Linked DNA regions of Homo sapiens: region 2 is linked to region 1. The links are contacts of gene promoters, found by promoter capture Hi-C in blood cells and fetal thymus (Javierre and others, 2016). All regions are on one chromosome and are shown on one strand. Each heading gives the region's core, a stretch centred on a gene start or on the middle of the fragment in contact. The rest is flanking DNA. Distances are from core to core; before and after follow the strand shown.

What was found. The method cuts DNA at HindIII sites, captures the fragments that hold promoters and counts their contacts. A CHiCAGO score of 5 or more calls a contact.
Region 2: a fragment that was not itself captured here is called in contact with the fragment with the promoter of EMC2 in region 1 in 1 of 17 cell types (naive CD8 T cells); the score reaches 5.0 in naive CD8 T cells.

What each region holds. Positions count from the first base shown.
Region 1 is chr8:108,441,525-108,445,972 of GRCh38, reverse strand. It overlaps EMC2 (ER membrane protein complex subunit 2), which reads right to left and starts at 2,349. Exons shown (of 11, transcript NM_014673.5): 1 at 2,275-2,349. The coding sequence starts at 2,314. It overlaps LOC105375704 (a long non-coding RNA gene), which reads left to right and starts at 2,501. Exons shown (of 3, transcript XR_928530.4): 1 at 2,501-2,603. RefSeq lists a silencer at 2,396-2,515. The HindIII fragment of the contact is 5,303 bases long and covers 1,922-4,448 here.
Region 2 is chr8:116,862,521-116,866,968 of GRCh38, reverse strand. RAD21 (RAD21 cohesin complex component) reads left to right here. Exons shown (of 14, transcript NM_006265.3): 2 at 208-383; 3 at 3,710-3,839. The coding sequence starts at 240. Among named protein-coding and RNA genes, the nearest start is that of RAD21-AS1, 9.7 kb to the left of the region's middle. The HindIII fragment of the contact is 206 bases long and covers 2,013-2,218 here.

The sequences.
Region 1 (4,448 bases), core at 1,100-3,599:
AGGCTTCTCTAAAAAGGTCATTTTCAAGCTAAGAGAAGAATGATACTAAAACCTGTATCTAAGATACTAAAGAAATTATTTCAACGCTAGAAAAATGGCTTATAATCTTTTCTGACAATGTGTTAGTGTTTATTATTAATCTCATTAACAATTCATTTAGTCATCAAATAATTACTGAGCTCCGCCCCCATGTGTCAGGCTCTAGGGAAGTGACAGTGAAGAAACAGGCCTGGTCCCTTTCATCTTAGGAGAGACAAAATTTTAAAACAAAACACAATTGGGTAAGTGCTTCAATAGTATTAGAATAGAATACATAATCGAAGGATTGCAGGTGTGTTTTGTTGCTTCATTTTATTGTTTGGGTTTTTTTTTTCAATTTTGGTGGGGGATGAGGAAAGGGAAGGGGGTAGTAGAGTGGTCAAGTAAGGCTTTTTTGTAGTAGGTGAGCTTTGTGGGGAATTGATAAATGATAAAGTTTAATGGGGGCAAGAGTGAGGCAAGGAGGGAAGAACACTCCCAGTGGAAGGACTAGCATGTGCCAGCTTTAAGAAGCAGCATGGCAATTTAGGGTATTCAACAAAGGCCAGCATAGGCAGCTCACAAAGTGAGAGGGAGAAGGGCTCAAGATAAAGCTGGAGACATGGGCAACCGCCAGATCATACAGAGGAAGGACATAATCATATTAGCACTAGCTAATAGTAACACATCCTTTTATATAGTACTTAACAGTTTACAAAGCACTTTAAAATGTTTTCTTTGTTCCTACAAATTTGTGTAGTAGTTATTATTTATTATTCCAAATTAATTACATCAATCCTCTTTAGAATGACCACAGGGTAAGGTCCAATTACTCAGTTAAATCACCTTGTCTGTTGGTAGTATACAGCTACTCGTCCCTCAGGATTTTATATATGCTACTATCATCTAGGAAACCTATAATGAACATACCTTCATAATAGCATTTTCTAAAAATTATGTAATATTTAAAACATTTTTTAAAAAGCATTAAAAATAACATCCATTTATCTACGACTCAGCTTACGGAAGATACCCTGACACAAGCCTTTTAAAACTGTGTGTTTACAGGTTTGTTTTCTCCATTAGATTGTGACTTCCTTGGAAGTGGGGACTGTGTGTTGACAGAGCCAAGATTTTGCAGTAAGAAATCAACACTGTTGTTTAATATAATGGAATCCCTCAATTCAGGTATAAATACTGAGATTCACAACGTGCTAGAGGCCATAAAGTCAATAAATCATTTAATTCAGTTCAAGTACAAAGAAATTTTGCTTTATTTGTAACGGATTTACAACTTTATAATAACTGATATATTTATTCACGATAAAACAGAAAATACAACTTTCGGTCCACATGTTTTCAGGTCATTATTAAAACATCCCAAGAAGGCATTCGTTAAGCAAATTAGCTACTGAAGTCTCCTGTATTATGTTAAATGCTGGGAATATGAATTCCAATTACACAAATTCCACGCCTTAATGAAACTCAAGTTTCTTAAGCACACAGAATTGATCCAAGGTTTGGCTGTTCCCAGATTTAAAGAACATATCCCACTCTAGATCAACTAAGGATAGGGAAAAGTGACCATCACACGTAAGCACTTACGTAGCCCAGAGTTAATTAGTTATTTTTCCCTTCAGAAAAGAAACTACTAGTAGGGAGTAAGAAAGAAGTTGTGTTGTGTGTGTAAATGTGTTTTGAGAAGGAGTGGGACAGAGACTAGACTAAAAGGAAAAGAAACTGGAAACCCGGGTTTAAGAAGAAAACTAAATGTAGAGTGGCATATGAGAATCACATTTGTTCACGCATCTTTTACACAGCTTTTCTGCACAGAGCTGTAATCCTTACACACCACTTAGTAAAGGGCCTTACAGGCCCTGTGTTTCTTGGCTCCAAAGAAGCTTCAGTAACCACCTATTCCGCCTCTTCCGCACCGCCCAGCAACCAGTTAGCGTGCGACAACCCCAGCCCCAAGTCCCTCCCGCCCGCCTCATAAATAAAAGCGGCCCCGGGACGCTGGACTGGCGCGGAGGAGGGCAGGTCAACCGAGGAGCAGACACCGTGGGAAACGCTGCAGAGTACGCGTCCGGGCCAAGGGAAGGGTCAGCCTCAGCCTCCACCTCAGCTTGGCCCGTACAGTGAGGGCTCTGGTACCAAAAAGACACCAGAGAACCCAGCTCCCCGAAAGCAGCGGGTACTCCCGAACGGCTTCCCAGCGCTTTTAGTCTTTCCGCACCCGCCCCCACCCGAAGTTACCTTCCCAAGTGACATCGTAAAGCTCTGAGACCTTCGCCATCTTCCCAGAACCTAGAGGCAGCGGGGTGAGAGGGCGGGGAGACGCAGTCACGTGACCCGCCACCGGGCGGTGGAGAGTTACGTAGCTTTTTCTCATTGGCCAAGAGAGCAGAGGGGGCGGTATCCGCCACGCACGTGCACGCGGCTCTGCGGAGGGGCTTTCGGGGAAGGGGGCGGAGCGAGCTGGGCGGAGCGAGCTGGACGGTGGACGGAGCTAGGTGGGCGGTGCGTGGCGCTCCCGCAATCTCAGGATACCCTGGCTGCTGGCGGGGCTACGGTGCTGGCTCGGGGTGAGGTGTGTGTGTGTGTTGACGTGGATTTTTAACAAATGCTGGGTTTTTAGTGTCCGTCAATCCTGGCTTTTCAGTTTTTTCTACCTAGGCTTGTTCATTCTCTTCACACTCCCTTAAGTACCCTTATTCTCTTCATGGCCGGCCGCAGTGCAGCCTTCTGCACGAATCCCTTATTTGTCCCCAACTTTCCTCCTTCCGTAATGGGATTTGCTTTCCGTTCACTTTTTAATCGACTAAACGGATAAACTCCAAAGTTTTGAGAGACTAAGTGGGATTCTTCCTTTGCGCTCTGAAGTTCCCTTGAATGCCCTCGCGCTAGCTTATACCCTTCATTAACGCTCGTCGTGCCTGTCATTGCTTCATCCATGTCTGCATGCCACACTAGGTTTCAAACTGTCGCGAGTATGTAAGTACTTATAAGGAATGAATGTACGAATGAGACCTTCACAGTTCCTGAACTTCGCTCCTCATTACTCCTGGGTGGATGGGGGAGCCTCCTTTCCCACCAGACTAATTGCTTTTAGGAAACTTTGGACGTCATCTCCTAGACTTAAGGAGAAATGTCTGGACAGGAAGTAAAAAATTTGAGGATGATAAGCGTATATTTAGTATTTGAAGCAATGGGGACATGAGATTGTAGAGGAAATATGTAAGCTGAGAAAAAACTAAAAATCACTGCAATGCAGCCGAAAGTTATTGGTCAGTAAAGAAGGGGCAGTTGATTTGAGAAGTAGAAATAATACTATCCCACAAGTCAAAAGAGTGGAGGGTTTTTTTTCTCAGCTTTATTGAGGTGTAATGGACAAAAATTGTGTATATTTAAGGTATACAAAGTAATGATTAGATGTAAATATACACTGTGAAATGATTACCACAAGCAAGCTAATTAACACATCTATCACCGTACATATTTCCTGTGTGTGTGTGTGTGTGTGTGTGTTGAGAACACTTAAAAATCTCTCAGCAAACTTCAAAGTATACAATACAGAATTATAACTGTAGTCACCATGCTGTACATTCGATCTCCAGAACATATTCATCTTACAACCAAAAGTTTGTACTATTTGACCAACATCTCTCCATTCCTCACCTGTCGGCTCCAGTCAACCGCAGAGGTTTTTTTGTTTGTTTGTTTAAAAAAAGGAAAAAAACCATCAAACCATAGACCCCAGAGAAGTCACTTAACAACAGAGAAGACTAGTGAATGTATATACTTGGATTCAATTCTGAATGAGCTGGCATTCTTTCTAAACAGACTTTTTAAAAATCTTTCATTCAAAAAGTTAAAAAATACTCAGAAATTCACATATTTTAATGCTCCAGTAAAGCAACCTGGTGCAATAGGAAGAACAAGAACTCCCAGATCTGAATCCAGGCTCTACCTTTCAGTAGCTGGGTGACTTTCAGCTTATTTCTCTCTAAACATCAAAAAGGCTCATATATAAAAATCTAATAATATGTGTGTAAAAAGAAAATAGCTACCTTGTGTTGTTAATCAAGATAAAAACAGATGCTGCAGCTAAAGCCCCTGCGTGGCACTCTCATGGAGGTACCATCCTATGTCTAGAAATACTGTTTATATGCTGATCAGTCCCAAACTGATAAACCTTCCCAAAACCCAGTCTGGTTGCTTGACGTACTCAGATAGCTAGCTGATACGCATCTCAAAGTTAACATATCCCACACAGAACTGCGGATTCCTGCTGTCACCTTCCGCATTCCCACCTTGTTTTTCCCTGTCATAGGTGAGGAAACCATTTACCTAATTGCACAAGTTAAAATTACAGGAAGTACCTTTGATTCCTTTTTTTGGCACCACCTCCCATATCTAGTCTATCAGCA
Region 2 (4,448 bases), core at 866-3,365, 8.4 Mb before region 1:
TTTGGGGTCTATTTTTTTTTCCTCTCTCAAAATTAAAACAATAGATTTGTTTTAAATCTGTTGTTTTTAAAATACATATTAAACATTTACTCAAGCATTTTATAGTTTTCATATTAAAGAGAGAAGAAAAATTTTAAATTTCTTATGTCTTGATAAGTATTTAAATTGTCAGATGATGTTTACATTAACTTTTTTTTCCCCTCTTAGGTTTTCTTCTGTTTTCATAGCCAGCCAGAACAATGTTCTACGCACATTTTGTTCTCAGTAAAAGAGGGCCTCTGGCCAAAATTTGGCTAGCGGCCCATTGGGATAAGAAGCTAACCAAAGCCCATGTGTTCGAGTGTAATTTAGAGAGCAGCGTGGAGAGTATCATCTCACCAAAGGTATGTTTGATGTTGACATTTTTATTCACTTTGTTGATTGTTTATTGATATGTGAAATAGAACTTCTAAAACAGTTTTTTTAGGTAGGGGCATTGGAGTGCAAGGAAAATCCTTAGAAATGTTTCTTTATTATGTGAAGTCCTTATCACCTCTAGATAGACTTGATATGATTACAGATTAGATTTTAAAAAAAATCTCTAAGTGCATATATTTTGATTTGCCTATTTTTAATGGCAAATAAGCATCAGTCAGGGCAATGCCCAAATATTGTTTACTGATCTGTTCCTCAGAGGAGCTTTTATTTGAGACCCTGTCTCAAAAAAAAAAAAAACCGACGTGGAAGTGCTGTAAATGCGTATTACTTAGTATAATAAGCCAATCTAAAAAGGCTACATATTATATGATTGCAGCTATAGGACACTCTGGAAAAGCCAAAACTATACAAATGAGACAGTAAAAAGATGGTAGGTTGGGGAGAGAATGGAGGGTTGAGTAGGCAGAGCACAGACTATTCTTTTTAGAGCAGTAAAACTGTTTTGCATGATAGTATAATAGTTAAATGCCATTTACATTTGTACAAACTAATAAAATGTATAACACCACGTGTGAACCCTGATGTAAACTACGGACTTTTGGTAATGATGTGTTAATATAAGTTTATCGATTTTAATAAATGAAACACCGATGGGAGGTGTCAATTGTGGGGAAGATTATCTGTGTGTGAGGAAGGGGGTGTTTATAAGAAATCTGTGCCTTTTCGTAAGTTTTGCTCTATTTCCTGGATGCAGCCTTCTAACAATCATTGTGTTAGTTTTTATGTATATACACAAAGAAAACTTGTGTACATGTACACAGGAAAGCCTAGAAGGCATACCAAAAGATTATTACAGATTTCTGTAGATGGTAGGATTACAGGTTGTTTTATTTTCTTTTTAAAGACTAGCCATTTAGTAAACATTTCTTGTTAAATGTTTGTTCACGCCCTTAAGTGTTTCTTAAGATTTATTTTTAGGATTATAATTGATAGGCCAAGTGATGGACATGTTTTTGAGATTTGTGATATGCACTAACAGTTTGTTCTGGTGAGATCATACCAGTTTGCACTGCTGGTCAAATTGTATGAGAACATTGGTATTTTCAATTTTTTTTATAGGTATGCTTACTGGGATAAGTTAATGGAAAACGTAGAAATCGTACTCCTTTCTGGAAAGTATATGTGTGGCTAATCTTTAACATCCGTAAGCAAATATTGAGTGGCTTAAAAGGATAACAGATTTTTTTCATGATATGTACCGAGTACTTTGTGCCACTTTAGGGACACTACAAACGAGTATGAGACAATCTGATAATTGAACATATACACGAACAGCCACAAAGGAAAGCAGACAGTTCAGGAATAATGTAAAAGATTGTAATGTGTTTATGAGAGAAAGTGATTTCTCTTCAAATTTTTTAAACCATTTCTAACTGAGCTTTTATCTATTTGGTAACAGGATGTAAAGATATTTCCACAGAGTGAACGGGCCTGAAATTTCTAATGTTTGCTTTGGTGTGCAGTTCTTGTTGTGAAAATGTCAGTTTAGTTGTTTAGCATAAGTGTCACACGTGGCTCATTTGCAACTGCAAGCTTGCATACTTTTTCTCTTCTCTCTTCCACTCCCCCACTGGAAGAACCACTGGCCCTATTTGCAGAGCTTTCCCAGAATATGTAGCCTGGAATCTTTATTATATTTATGTTTACACTTTAACACACACTAGCTCAAAAACATATGCCATACCTCATTTTACCTACTCCTAGGCTAAACTCTGAACCAGACTAATCCAGAAAGAAAGCTTTTGCCCAAACACCACTTTTTGAAAGTTGCTAGTTCTAGATAAGATAATAGCAGAGGTTTTTTTTCCCTCCTTTGTTCTTAGGTGAAGGTTCAATCAATATTAATTTTAAATTTTATAACACCACATAAAAATAGATTCTGTTTTTCCATTAGGAGCAACATTTTACTTTGAATTTTTTTAAAATTAGGGATTCATTGTCTGATAAATTCTGAATTTGATCACAAATTTGGTATAATTTTGGATGTCTAAAAATGTATGGCCATATACATCATCATTTATGCTGTAAGTCACATAAAATGCTCATAAATACAGAACCTGAGAGTCATAAGTAGGGTCCTAGAGTGCTGTAGAAAATACACATAAAATTTAAAATACAACATTTTCTTTTACAAATAACAATATACTAATCATAATTTAAACATTAAGCAAATGTTTAAAAGCTTTTTTTGTTACCTTAGAACTTGTTGTGCTTTATGGCGTGGTTTGGGAAAGTATCTGGGGATGTTTGAGTTCATATTGCCTTGTTCTTTCAGTAAATTTTCCTTATGGCTAGAGGAATTTTGAATACTTGTGTTTAGATGGAGTCTTATCTCATTGTTTTATCAACTACTGCTTTTCCACATACTGTATCCCATGTTAATGTTGATCAAGATCTGCCTCGAAAAAAGGTTGGGAGTATATTTTCTGGTGAAAAAAAGCTATGGATACTATTGTTCTTTATCAATTAGTATGCTTTCCAAACTTTTTTTTTTAAATCGGTATGCTTTCCAATTAATGGAAACTTAGTTAAAAAGTAGCTTAAACAATAAGGGAAATAACAGGCTTAATTAACTAAAATTTTGGAAACAGGGAGATCTGAGATTGGTCCAGCAGCTTGATTATGTCATCCAAGAACTCTCCATCCTTAGTGTGTTAGCTTCCTGTCCTCATACTTTAGCATTGTGGTTTACAGGGTGACTGCATGAAGCACCAAGCAAGCCCTACCTATTCACAAAGCAGGAAAGAGGGAAGGAAGAGAGGCGTTGTTCTTTTGGGGGGGAAATCTTTCTCAGAAACTCTCTGGCATACTTCACCTATTACTCAATTGGCTGAACTGTGTTTCATGCCCACTGAAGAACAGGTATTAGCAGAGAGGAATGAGACATCTGTCAATGTGGGGGACATTTGCTTCTCAAACAAAATCAGAATTGACTTAGCAAGAAACAATGGCCCTGGATTGGCAACCAAAAGTGTTACGTGCTCCTTAATGTGCTAATGACACAATTCATGGAATGGTTTAGTGCTTGCTTCCTAGCTTCCTTCATGTTTGTGTTAATTCGTGAATTTCCAGTCACTCTGTCTTTTCAGGATATTCGATATTCAGGGAATTTATAGGTAAGGACAGAGAAATGTATGTGATTATAAGGCAACTTTAAAGGAAAAAGATAAAAAGAAGACTATGAATGGCACGAAATGCAGGTTTTGGAATATGATTAATGTTTTATTCATAGGTGAAAATGGCATTACGGACATCAGGACATCTCTTACTGGGAGTAGTTCGAATCTATCACAGGAAAGCCAAATACCTTCTTGCAGACTGTAATGAAGCATTCATTAAGATAAAGATGGCTTTTCGGCCAGGTATTGTTAAACTTGTTTGGTTTTTGTTGTTGTTGTTTACTTTGGAGTTTCTCATGTTTTTTGTGTTACTGTAGCTAAACACATTTTCTAAATCTACATGCTTTGTTTTAATTGAAATACGAGGAACCCTTCAAAGATAGAGCAAGGCTTGGGGAGGCAGTGCTTCAAGGGAGGAAACCTACTTGCGTCTGTTCTCCCTGTGAAGTAATGGAGCTCACCCCCATTTGTTCTTCCTTTGGAGCTGCCTTTTTAATACTTTTTTCAGCAGCTTACATAGACTTGAGTCATCAAGAGGTTAAAATGTTGGAAACTAATTGTTATGTGATGATTTTTTAAAATATAGCTCAGAAAAGACAATTTTAGGATTTTAAACTTTTTTTCCTAAGTAAATATTCTTCGTAGTTTTTTGTTATTTTGTTTTAGGTAATGATTGGTTATAAAACTGGAGTCTGCCAACCACACCACCATCTAAGAAGATAATTAATATTTAAATTCACATATCTTTCTATAATTTTTAAAAGCATTGATGAAATTTTTATTCTAATTAAAATAATGTGTATTTTATTAAGAAATGCCTTAAACAGTTTCTACTGAGGATACATTCTAGTA